2 separate regions of the Homo sapiens genome follow, and region 1 is linked to region 2. The links are contacts of gene promoters, found by promoter capture Hi-C in human tissues and cell types (Jung and others, 2019). All regions are on one chromosome and are shown on one strand. The core of a region is centred on a gene start or on the middle of the fragment in contact, and the rest is flanking DNA. Distances in the headings are between cores, read along the strand shown.

Evidence for each region. The method cuts DNA at HindIII sites, captures the fragments that hold promoters and counts their contacts. A contact is called where the count stands out against the background at its distance.
Region 1: a fragment that was not itself captured here is called in contact with the fragment with the promoter of RASGRP2 in region 2 in 1 of the 25 tissues and cell types used here (lymphoblastoid cells).

What each region holds. Positions count from the first base shown.
Region 1 is chr11:64,693,653-64,700,615 of GRCh38, forward strand. NRXN2 (neurexin 2) reads right to left here. Exons shown (of 23, transcript NM_015080.4): 3 at 4,123-4,140. Among named protein-coding and RNA genes, the nearest start is that of NRXN2, 26 kb to the right of the region's middle. The HindIII fragment of the contact is 4,113 bases long and covers 1,556-5,668 here.
Region 2 is chr11:64,741,349-64,746,208 of GRCh38, forward strand. It overlaps RASGRP2 (RAS guanyl releasing protein 2), which reads right to left and starts at 2,794. Exons shown (of 17, transcript NM_001098671.2): 1 at 2,655-2,794; 2 at 1,446-1,589; 3 at 662-764; 4 at 91-153. The coding sequence starts at 1,518. RefSeq lists silencers at 1,461-1,790, 2,101-2,150, 2,311-2,360, 3,351-3,460, 3,711-3,910 and 1 more. The HindIII fragment of the contact is 18,641 bases long and covers 1-4,860 here.

The DNA of each region.
Region 1 (6,963 bases), core at 2,362-4,861, 47 kb before region 2:
TAGGGACCCTGCACACCTGGGTTCTAAGAGGAAACTGGGGTTCAAGAGGACAAAATTAGAGAGGAAGCAGGTAGGAGAAGGTAGAATCTACAGAGACACTGAGAGACTGGGGTCAGAGCTCTCAGACAGCAAGGTCCAAAGAGGACAGCCGAGCCCTATGGGAGGAAGCCCAGCTCTCTGAAAGGTCCAAGTACATCATTCATAAATTACAGACCCCCTTTCTCTGACCAGGACCTCTCTCAAATGACCCAAAAGCTGGATTTTGAAAATAGAAAATGGACTGATAGGAAGACCAGCTAGGATTTCCATCCAGGATTACACTGGCCCCTTGAGACAGCCTTGTCAGCCCTAACCCAAAGTACCCCTCCCCAGCCTTAGTGGGAAGGAATCTGGCCCACTGGATCAGTACCCTTGTCCCCAACAGGCACCAGCCAAGGAAAGCTCTCTCCTAGAGAGGCTGGCAGCACCAGGCCCCACAGCTGGGCTGAGACCCCAGGGCTTCCTGAGATGGCCAGCCAGCTCCACCAAACCTCAGAGCCCCCCCAGCCCCACTCACTCCCCTGTGGTGTCTGGCCAAGAGGGTAGGAAGGGGAACAGCCCTGCAGTGCCACTGTCACCCTTGGAAACCAGCCCCACTGCTGTGGCAATGAGATGTGAACCCTAGGGATAGAAAGCTGGGGCCAGGATGGAAGTAGCAAGGTTAAAGAGTTACAAGTATTTCTGAGACGAAGCTGGGGGCCAGGATGCCTGGATTCTAAGAGGAAAGGCAGTGAGGAGGACAGGAAGGACATGGCCAGGGGCCAAAGGCCTGGACCCCGTGGCAGATGGTTCACATTGCCCTCTTTGCCCCATGTCTCTAGGGTGGCACTGGTTTCTCCCCACCTCTGAGTCTGAGGCCACTTGGAGGAGGAGGCCACAGCCGCTGAGGGCAGCCTCAGGACTGAACAGCTCTTGGGAGGATGTAGGTTTTTATCCATCACACAGGTAAGGACCCAAGCATTTGAACCGAGTCTCCTCATTCCTTACTCTGAATACCCTCCTACTCTGCCACCAACCCTTTCCCCAAAAACTACCAGCATCTCCTTCCAAACCCCCTAAACCCAGGACCCAGACCCAGAGCCCTCAACCCACATCCGACTCTCCCGGTCAGAAGCAGCCTTGCTCTCAGGATCCCACCCTTGAGAATCCAGGTCTCTGCCCACCCCCAGCCCAGGAGCCAGGTGCCCTGTGAACCCACCCTCTGTCTCCCACAGGCCTGACTGCTGCTGGAGGAAGCCACATCTCCCTCTCCCAGACCCTTCCACTGCCCAGCTCCTCGCCAGCCTCGTTAGCATTCGGCAGTCTCCCTCTGTCACCACGGCAACCAGCTGCTCAGCTCCCTCAGGCGTGACAGCACCAGCCATCTTGGTGAAGGGGAGGCTGGTTCCCTTCCTGTCTACCCCTGGCTCAGTCCCAGCTGGCCCCAGGGTTTTCTCCCTAAAGTCTGTCTCCCCACTAATCTGAAATCTCTGCTCCCTCCTCCTGGCCCCCAGCCCCACTGGGGTATTCACTTCCCCACATCCACCTGTGGCATCAGCCCCTCCTCCCACTGCTGGAAAAGAGACTGGCAATGATGGATGGCATTGCCATGGGTCCCTTCCTAGGGCACTTTATCTGGCTACTTCTGGGTCTCTTTGCCCTGCCACTAGAGGCTGGGAGGAAAAAGGAGGTGTTCGGCAGGGGTGCAGAGCAGGATCTTGGGGTTCCTGGAGAAAGCTAGGCCTCAGGCACAGTGTCAAGTGGGAAGAAGGCGAAGGTACAGAGGACTCCTTAGAGATATAAGGAGGGCTGCAGGGTCCAGAGCACAGTGCCACAGAGGAGGCCGCCAGCCCAGCCACGTGGAACCACCACCTGCTAAACCCACCTCCCCATCTTCAGTCTCATCCCCTAACTCTCCTACTGAAACCCCAGAGAGAACCACCATCGAAATAAAGATGGTGATAGGTGACCAAATTAAGAGACACACAAGCAGGCACACAGACATGTCTCAGAGTGACACAGAGATGTGTCAGACTCCTAGGTGTGTATACACACACGCGCACACACACACACACAGCCTCCAATACACAGCCCTGCACAGCCACTGACATGCAGGCATCCACAGTGCCACATCTAAACCAGCAGACCACCATGCCACCCAAAGAAATGGCGAGGTGGCGTCCACAGGCCTCCTTCCCCATGGGTCCCCAAAGCCCAGCTTCCCTTCTTGTTCCTGTCTATCAGCCCCTTTCCTCTTCCCTACTCCCACCAGACTCCTTCTTCCCAAGTGCCCCCCTGCCTTTCTTCTTTTGGCCAAGCTGTTCCCCGTTCCTGCCCCACCCCCTACAGCTTGAGGCTTGAGTCTTTCTCTTCCCACCCTTCACTTACCCCCTCTCCTTCCTCCATCTCTCTGCTCCCTCCTTTTTTCTCTCCTCCACCCTTTTTTCCCTTTCTCTCTTCCTCCCTCCATCTCACCCTTTGTTCCGGAGGAGACATGACATCAAGAGCAAGTAAAAGTCACATCAACACTAAATCTTATCTCCAGCCCTCAGAAGGCTGCGTCCACCCAGACACGCAGACTCTCTCTGTGACACACACGCAGAGGTAAACACTGACACACGGAGATGCAAACACAGATGCAGACACACAAAGATGCTGATGCTCTACATAGGCATACAGAAATGTGGGCCACACCACATATGCATCGATGGAGGCGCACAGCACACCCATGCACTCAGACACAAAACCATGTTACGTGTACACAGCATATATCCTCAGGCGTGCACACAGACACACAGACCAGCAGAGTTGTATAAATGTATGTGTATGCAGACATACATACCCACACATACATACATACACACACACACACACACACACACACACACACACACCTGCCTGCTGGGCCCTGGGGACCTGAGGACCCCCAGGGAAAAGAGACATCCAAGAGAGACAAGTCAGACCATGGACATCACGAGGAAAAATGGGTTCCAGCCCCACACTCAGGCCAAGAGCCTCTTGCTGCCTTTCTTTCCCAGGACTACTGCATCCCTGGCACTTTCCTCTCCTCCTCCCCAGGGACGCCCTTGCCCTCCCACTCCACCTTCCCAGGAGAAGGGACTGGGATGCCACCTCATGCCTGCTCTGCTGCCTTCTTCATGGTAGCTATGTGAGCTCATCTTCAACACAGCCTTCAAGCCAGGACTACCTTCTTCCTGCTCTCAGTCCATCCCAGAGGAGGAGAAGAAACAGGGAAAGCCAAATTGCAAGAGAAAGATTCAGAGAATGACAGAAACCCAGAGAGAGCCTGGGGAAGGAGAGACACATGGTCCAGGGACAGAGTCTTGGAGAAAAGGAGGTAAAGACAGAAACTGGAGAGGGAGAAGAGGCCAACAAAACAGGAGATAAAGAAAGAACATACAGAGAGACCTGAGAGAGAGGCACACACCCCACCCTTGCCCTCCGACCTGGATGAAGGAAGAAGCAGCCCACCCCTACCTAGCAACCTGTGGGGCAGCAGCTAGGGGCCTGCCGCAAGTGGCAAGTGCTGGTCACAGTGGGGCAGAGAAGCTGCTCCCACTATACACCTCCAACCCCCTACTCTGCCAGTGCACTCCACCACCCTCCAGTCCCCTGAGCCCTGCACAGTGGCACCAGATTCCAGGGCAGATTTTCCCCAAGCACAGGTTTCTGGGGCAACAGCCCACCCCAGCCTGCCCCAGCATCTGGAAAATTGCCTTTCTAAGCTTCCTAACTTAGGCTGGGCTAAACGTTGTCTACCCACTCACTTCTGGGCACTTCGGAATCCTGTCAGCCCCATCCCTCCACCCCCACCGCTCATCTCTTCCCTAAGTTTCCCTTTCCCTCTCCAGCGTGGAGAGGGAAAGGAAGAAGAAAGGCCAGTCAGCAGCTCCCCCGAAACTCATGAAGAGGGGACGCAAGAGAGTGGGGCAAGGCAGCCAAGGGAGGACCCCAGACATCCTTCTCCGGAGAGGCCCTAAACATGGCAGGAAAGGGAGTCCTTGGGTAGCCAACGACAGTCCCTCATGTAGGATCCCCATGGCAACAGATCCACTACCCCAGTGACAGAGAGGCTTCACTCACCTTCCATGGGGTGCTCCTCTGCAGCCAGCGAGGTTCGGAGAAGACGGAGGCAGAGAGAGAAGAAAAAGGAGGGCTGTTAGCAAAGGTACCACGGACAGGGGCTCCAAGGGGAGAGAGGAGTCCAAGCCCACCCAGGCCCTGACATGAGTCACCCAATGTGGAAGGCCCAAATCTCAAGAAACAGCTATGTTGGGGATGAGGCAGACACAGAGCTGCTCCCTGAGTCAGAACCTCACACACAGTCAGCCAGTACCCATCACACCCAACCCTCAAGTAACATTTCAGGAAACCGAGGCCCAGGACAGGGAAGTAACCACTCAAGGTCACACAGAGAATCTGAGGCAGGGCCAGGAGTGGCAGTCAGGCTTCTCAACTTCCCCAGAGAGGCTCCTACCCTGCATTCCATTGCATCTCACAGACAGATGGGGACACACTCACACCACTAATTGTCTCACAGGGTTCACTAGAGACACACTCATGCTCAGTGACACACTGACACACATAGGCACTTAGCAATCCAGTGACACACACTGTCTCACACAATTCACATATAAAGCCCCTGCACACAGGACCCAACCACCTACGGCCCCTGACCCTCCCAGGGGTGAAAAGACATCAAGACACAGAGAGAACAAACATGATTCTGCCACACAGCACTGTGTGACTTTCATCCTATTCACTTAACCTCTCTGAGTCCCTACTGCCTCTTCTGCAAAATGAGAGGGGTGGACTGGATAGTTTCTGAGGCCTCTTCTGACTCTGATTCTGATTCTAGGACAAATGTCTTCTTAACATCTGGATGAGGCCAAGGGCCCCCAGGCTGGATGGCCATGCCAGTGGGGGAAGAGAGTCCAAATTCAGTGGGCCACACTGGGCCCAGACCTAGACCATGCCACATCCTTTGGATAGGCAGACCTCACCTATTAGGGCCCTGCCTGGATCTGGCCTTGGAGCTCACCAAATGGGTCAAGGGAGAAGATGGAACAACGAGAAGATGGAGACAATTCCTTCAACTAAGCTACAACTCCTCAAGCAGGTTGGGCTCTGATCTTCTTTGTAAGAGGATGGAGGTGCCCCCAGCTCCAAACATTTGCCATGTGCCCACCTCCTGGGAGCCTTTAGATGAAGCAATAGGCAGGAGGGGGAAAACAGCACAATCTACAAACACACAAACCCAGTGGGGAAACACATACTTGCATATGCAGGCCCCAGGATACACACTTATGTACACACAGCTATCCAGTTCACACTCACGCATGCACACATTATCTCCTCCTACCTCCAACCCCATTTGGTGATATCTGTTCATTCGCTCATAGAGAGGTAGCTATACTCTGAAAACAAACATAGTCATTTGTCATACCTTATACCACTCCCATAATCCACGCACATACACAGGCTGAATGCAAGCACCAATACCTACACAGTAATCTACTACATAACACTAGACACACACACCACCACCCCACAGTGACTCCAGTGGCTAAAGCCATACAGCCAGCGATGAACACAGCTCTTTATCTCCCATTTCCTAAACCTACATACACAGTCTTTCCATGTCAACATGTGTTACAAACACACTCCTCTACAACACAGAGCTGCTTCTACCTGACAGCTGCATCACCTAAAAGATACATGTCTAATAGTTTTCTTTTTTTTTTTTTTTTTTTTTTGAGATGGAGTCTTGCTCTTGTTGCCCAGGCTGGAGTGAAATGGTGCGATCTCAGCTCACCGCAACCTCCACCTCCCGGGTTCAAGTGATTCTCCTGCCTCAGCCTCCGGCATGCGCTACCACACCCGGCTACTTTTTGTATTTTCAGTAGAGATGGGGTTTCTCCATGTTAGTCAGGCTAGTCTCGAACTCCCAACCTCAGGTGATCTGCCCGCCTCGGCCTCCCAAAGTGCTGGGATTACAGGCATGAGCCACAGTGCCCAGCAATAGTTTTCTTAAGTAAACTGAATCACATTTCATTTATGGGGGGAGCTGGCTAATAAAGGGGCCCTCAGGAAACCCTTTGGCTCTCGTGAAGACTGCTGTGCCAGGATTTCTTTGGTCCCAGTATGCTAAGACCCTGGTCAGTCAGCACAATTGTCTCACCAGCACCTGTGCAAATAAGGAGGCATGGTGATTTCTAGATAATCCAACATGGTAGGTATTTCAAAAAGTATTTCCACCTGCCAGAAATGTACGTCATGCTATGCTCAGGAAGGTGAAACAACCAGGCTTGGTTTGTTTCTGGCTTTTGAGAGACAGCACCTAGAAACTCACATATCTCTCTTCCTCTGCTGCTCTTTGCTTTCTGCTGATTCACCTATGCCCCTCACCTGCCACCTCAGTCCCCTTCAGGGTTGGCCCCTGCCCTCCACATTCCTCTTACTTCTCCTCGCTCTCCTCAGTGATGGCTCATTTTCGTGCTCAGAGACTCCCAAACCATGGGTAGTCCCGGCCTCCTCCCTGAGTACCAGTCCTGTATCACCATGTGTCCACCCAGCAGTGCAATTGCTCGTCCAACTCTCTGACATCTAAACTCCACCACTGAAGCCATTCTCGACACCTCCACTCCTACAACCAAGTGCTTATTCCCCTGTGCTTAGCAAAGCCCCTGCTTTCAACCAGTGCTGCCTGAGCTCCCACTACATGCCCCACACTGCCCTCATAGGTTCCAGAGATTCCATTAGTTAGCCATGTGCTGGGCACCGTACTGACCCTCACATGCAATATCACACATCAGCCTCACTGCAACACAGAGCTCGGTGTTATCTATCGACTCTGTACAGAGAAGAAAACACACCCAGGAGCACAGAATCACTTTTGCCCTTCTCCACTGCAATCCTAGGTCA
Region 2 (4,860 bases), core at 1,544-4,043:
AAACAGCGCCCTGCCCCCTCCTCCAGGCCAGCCTGAAGCCAGAGAGAAGGGAGAAAGGGGAGGGGCTAGAGCCCCAGGGGAAAGACTCACCTGACCAGGTGGCACGTTTTCACCTGCAGGGAATTGGAGTTGTCCTTCCGGGATTGTTGGTAGGTGAAGGAGAGGGTTAAGGAGGCCGCTTAACTCTAGAAAGGGAGGCCTGCGTGGAGGGAGGCTGGGGGCGGGGCCTGGTTCTAGGAGACACGTTCTAGGGATGGGGCTTGCGCTCTGCGGAGATGCTGGGGGTGAGGCTTGAGCTCTGGGAGGGGTTGGAGGTGGGGGTGGAGGACTAGGTGCTGAGGGAGGCTGAAAGCAAAGCCTGGGCTCTGGGAGAGAGAGATGCACGGGGCGCACCCAAGCCTGAAGCAGGGGCAGGCCCCAGACTCTAGGGAGAAGGAGGGCAAGGCCTCGGCTGGGGACAGAGCCTGGGGACAGGACCGAGTCGCTAGGAGCAAGGAGGGGGCAGAGCCTAGGCCCTAGTTGGAGGCTGGGACGACGCCTGAGCTCTGGGATAAGGAGTGGCCTATACTTAGGAGCGAGGCTCATTCTGCACCTGGGCTGGGCAGAGGGGCTGCGCATGGGCTCCGACGGCGGGGGCCTTGGCAAGGCCGGCGAAGGATATATGTGGAGCAGCTTGGCCGCCAGCTGAGAGGAGGGGATGTACCAGGGGTGCATCATGAGGAACATGCGCACCAGCTGCGGGTCCCGCACCTTCCCGGAGTCATCTGACTCCGAAGGGTCAAAGACAGGTGGCTGAGCTGGGTCCGCAGCTACCATGCCTCATCCTCACCCCGCAACCCGCCAGGTATCGGTCCTTCGGGTGCACGCTCGACCCCGCCCACCTCCTGCTTGCCCAGGACTCCGAGAGCAGGAGGCAAATTAGAGAGGAAAGGTGTGGTGGGCGAGAGATAGGCACGCCCTGAGGACTGGAGGAGGGGAGCGCCCGAGCCGCCCATCGTCCGGAGGGGAACCAGCTGGGGCGGAAGGAGCCTGGGTTCCCCGGGGTCAAGAATCCAGAGGTCATTTCCTGAGCGCTTGGGGGGAAGGGGCACCCCTTCACCAGATAAGCCGCCCCCCATTAGCCGGAAACAGCTCCCAGGCCGGAGATAGCGAGTTCCTCCGGATTCCCCGGGAGACAGATAATGCCCCTCAAGTGTCAGAGTCCGGGACCCGGCCCTCCCTTCGCCGCCGCTGGGGAAGGCTAGAGAAGGGAAACCTCATCTGTCTGAAGGGCGTGCATCTCTCTGCCCTGCGTTGCGGAGGAGGCTTTCGTTAAAGAGACTGCACGCTGCGGAGCAGGGTGGGTCCGGGTCAGGGCTGTGCCCTGGACTGTGCCTGGGAGGCAGGGACCCGGGCTCAGACTCGGGGCTAGGCTCAGGCTCCGTGTGCCCTCCCGAGCCACTCACCGAAGGCTTCGATGCACCCGCGGAGCAGCTCCTCCACCGTGCAGCCCTTGTCCAGGTCCAGGGTGCCTGCCATGGCCGCCGGCGCGGGGTGGGCTGGGCCCAGGCTGCGCTCCGGGAGCCTCCCACCGGGCTCGGACCGAACCCCTGTCCCGGGAGAGGCAGAGCGGGAGTCTGCGGAGTCGCGGGCGGGGGAGCGGCCCCGCGGGCAGAAACGGGGCGGGGCGGGCACGCCCCCTGCTGGACAGGGGCGGAGTTGTCCCCCGCGGCCACTCCCGGGGTTAAACGGTCTGGCCCGGGATGGTGCAACCCGCCAGTTGGGAAACGGACCCGCAGAGAGGCTTCCGGCCCACCCTCGGAGTCGCGGGAAGGCCGAGGGGCTTCACGAGGATGGGGACGAACCAAGATCCCAGGACTGGCTGGCGCCCAGCCCCCCGCAGGGCGCCTTCTCCTCGCGCCCTCTCCCCAGAGGCACCTGCAGCACCCCGCAGCTCGGCTCTGCGCCCCTCCCGCTTCCCTCCCTCCACAGCCTCCCTTCCCCCGCAGGGTTATTTTGGGAACCCAGAGCCTGAGGGGACCTCGGAGGAATTTCTCCCTGGTATGGGAGGTGGGGGGAGAGAACCCAGGCGTCCTGCCCGCCTCGCCCCCTCCCGGGAGCCCAGGAAGGCGAGGCGGGGCTGCGGCAGCCCCCAGGGGGCCTGCCCTAGGGGAGGCGGACTGGATGGGAGAGGAACATTCCTGGGGCGGGGGGAGCCCGCTGCGGCCAGGAGGCGTCAGCGGGAAGCCTGAGCCTGGGAACTGAGCGCTCCCAGGCCACCTCCGCAAAGGTCCCAGGGGTCCCGGCTCAGCTTGTCCACAGGCCCTCTTCCTCCCTATCCCCGGCTCCTGACCCTGGCCCCGGCCCCGCACAGGCGAACTGTGAGCGCGCACGGAGCAGGGTGTCCAGAGGGGGGCGCTCGCGCCAAGGGTGGCCGGTGGGTGCATGACACCATTAGCAACTCCGGTCACTGGCGGGGTCATACGCACCCTGGCAGGGGCAAACACTCCACACCCAAGTTATTCGTCGGAGGCCGGGGACCTAAGTGGAGGTGCAGGCGTCCGCACTTACACGCACCGGGCCACAGGCACCGGCCTCCCATCCTCCGTCTCTCACACACAATGGCACCCACACCCTGTGCACACCTGCACGAAGAAACCCTCAGGCACACATACCCAGCTCGTCCACCCCAGAATGCAAACCCGCGGACGAGGTCGCCTCCTGGACGTGCTGTTCACTTGAGCCAGGCCAGCCTTGAGTCCCGCGGCCACACAGGCGCTGACATCCTCACACGTGTGCACACACGCAAGGCAGTGCCTCTCCACGCATGTACACTCCCACACACATGCACACACCCCCATGGGTGCGCACGCCCATTCCGTCGCCCCCCTCCCATTTGCGGTGCAGGGCCCGCCCTGCGGCCCCAGCTCCCTGACTCCCCTCACTCCCAGATTTTGGCAGAGCCTTGCCCCACGGAAAGGTACCCCGGCCCTACACATACTCACTCCCCCAGGCTGGAGGACAGGGGAGCTCCTGTACGGAGTTCTCAGGCGGACTTTTCCTAAGAGCCACCCAGAGCCGTCCCCGCCTGGCTCTACCGCTTCCTCGTGTGACCTTGAGAATCACTTGGCCTCTGGGAGCCTCAATTTTCTCATCTGCCAAATGGGGGTACGCGGGGGAGGGCCCCGCTGGAAGGTGGCTGGGAAAAGCTGGGTGCACCGTGGAGGTCCTCCGCCCTCCGGGGATCCAGCGCGCCTTAGCTCTCGTGGCCGCTGCCCCCTCTCCCAGACCCGGGCCGCAGACTCCCCACCCGCTCGCCGCCCCCAGCCCGCCCGCGCCGCCCTGGGCGGGGGGGGAGTCGCTGGGGGCCGCGCCCTCCTTCGCCTGGCGCCCCGCCCGCGCTCGCCCACTCACTCTTGGGACCTGCCGCAAGGAGCCCGCACCGGCCTGGCCGACCCCACCTCCGTGCGCTCCCGCCCGCCGGCCTCGCTGCGGCTGCGGCTCCCGCCCGCTCTCCACGCCGCGGCCCCGCTCCCCGCCGCCCCGCCCCCGCCCCCGCGCCAGGCTGCCCCCTCCCCCCTCCGCCCCTGCGCGGAGCTCCGCACCGCCGGCTGCGCCACCCCCACCGGGGGCTCCCTCTCGCCCCGCACGCGGCGGTCCCTGCGGCAGCTTAACCCCTCCCCTGCCGCGCCGCCCGGGAGGCCAGGGCCGCGGGCGGGGGGCTGCGCCACTAGCTGCCCCGAGGGCGGGCGACCGGAGGCCCCGCCGCCCGGGACGCGGAGGGGGGACCGAAACGAAGAGCCCCTCCCCCAACCGCGGACGCCCCAGTGCCCCCCGCCCTGCCTGGGTGTCGGGCGGAGGAAGCCGGGAGGGGCAGGAAGCGGACTGCGGTGGGGAAGGGGCGCCCCGCCCAGCCCCCAGCTCGGGTTCCTGTTTTCGAGACAAACCGTTCCCATGGGGCTAACCCGGCCCGGGACCGGGCGTCTTCCTGCAGGCAGCGGGTGGCACAGGCCTAGTGGAGGTCGGGGGCGTGGGGACAGCTGGTCCTTGAGATAGTCTGGGGGATGGGCTAGGACAAGATGGGAATATTTTGGGGAGAGGGACCTGTGGGGAGCGAGGAATGAAATCGTGGCTATCTGGAGACGCGGCCTTGATGTCTGGGAATGGGGGCGGGGGGCCCAGTTCACACAGGAGGAACGGGGCCCCGGAAGCCTGGCTCCCCACAGGGTCGAATGGAAAGGGGCAGCCGCATGTGGCGGTGGGTTCTCCGCAGCTCGGAGACTGGAGACCTGGATGCCTGGCCAACAGGGAGGAACTTGGGAGGGGCAGCCGCAGGCGGTTGGGGTCCCCACTAGCCGGGCCTAGGAGAGCGGGTAACGGTTTCCGACCATTTGGCTTCAGACACACTCACTGTGAAACCACCGACCCCAAACCTCCCTTCCGAGGCGTGCCCCTCCCAGCCTTGGGGCGGGGGATCCAGGACCGCCCCCGCACCTCAGTCTTGGTAATGTAAGACTTAGAAACAGGACCTTTCTGTTCCTCAGTTTCCCCATAATGAGGGCCTAGACTAGGCGGTCTGCGAGTGTTCCCTGCCGTAACACTCCCCCGACTTTGGATCCAGTGTAGCCACCTGCTAAGAGACCCTTAAACGCCGCAGTAGGGCGGGGCTAAGGGCGGAGCCAAGAAGGCGCCGAGCATCCTCTGCTTCCTCCCCCTCCTGGGTCCTGCCCTCGACAGCGCGGATCCTCCGTGGTCCGGGAAGCCTCAGCCCAAGTCCCGGCTCCCAGCCCCGGTGGGCCCCACCCAGGCAGACGCCCCGCCCCCGGCCAGCGAGGCTGGCCGCTGACCTAGTATGGACACGGCACTGGGAAGAGAGGCGTG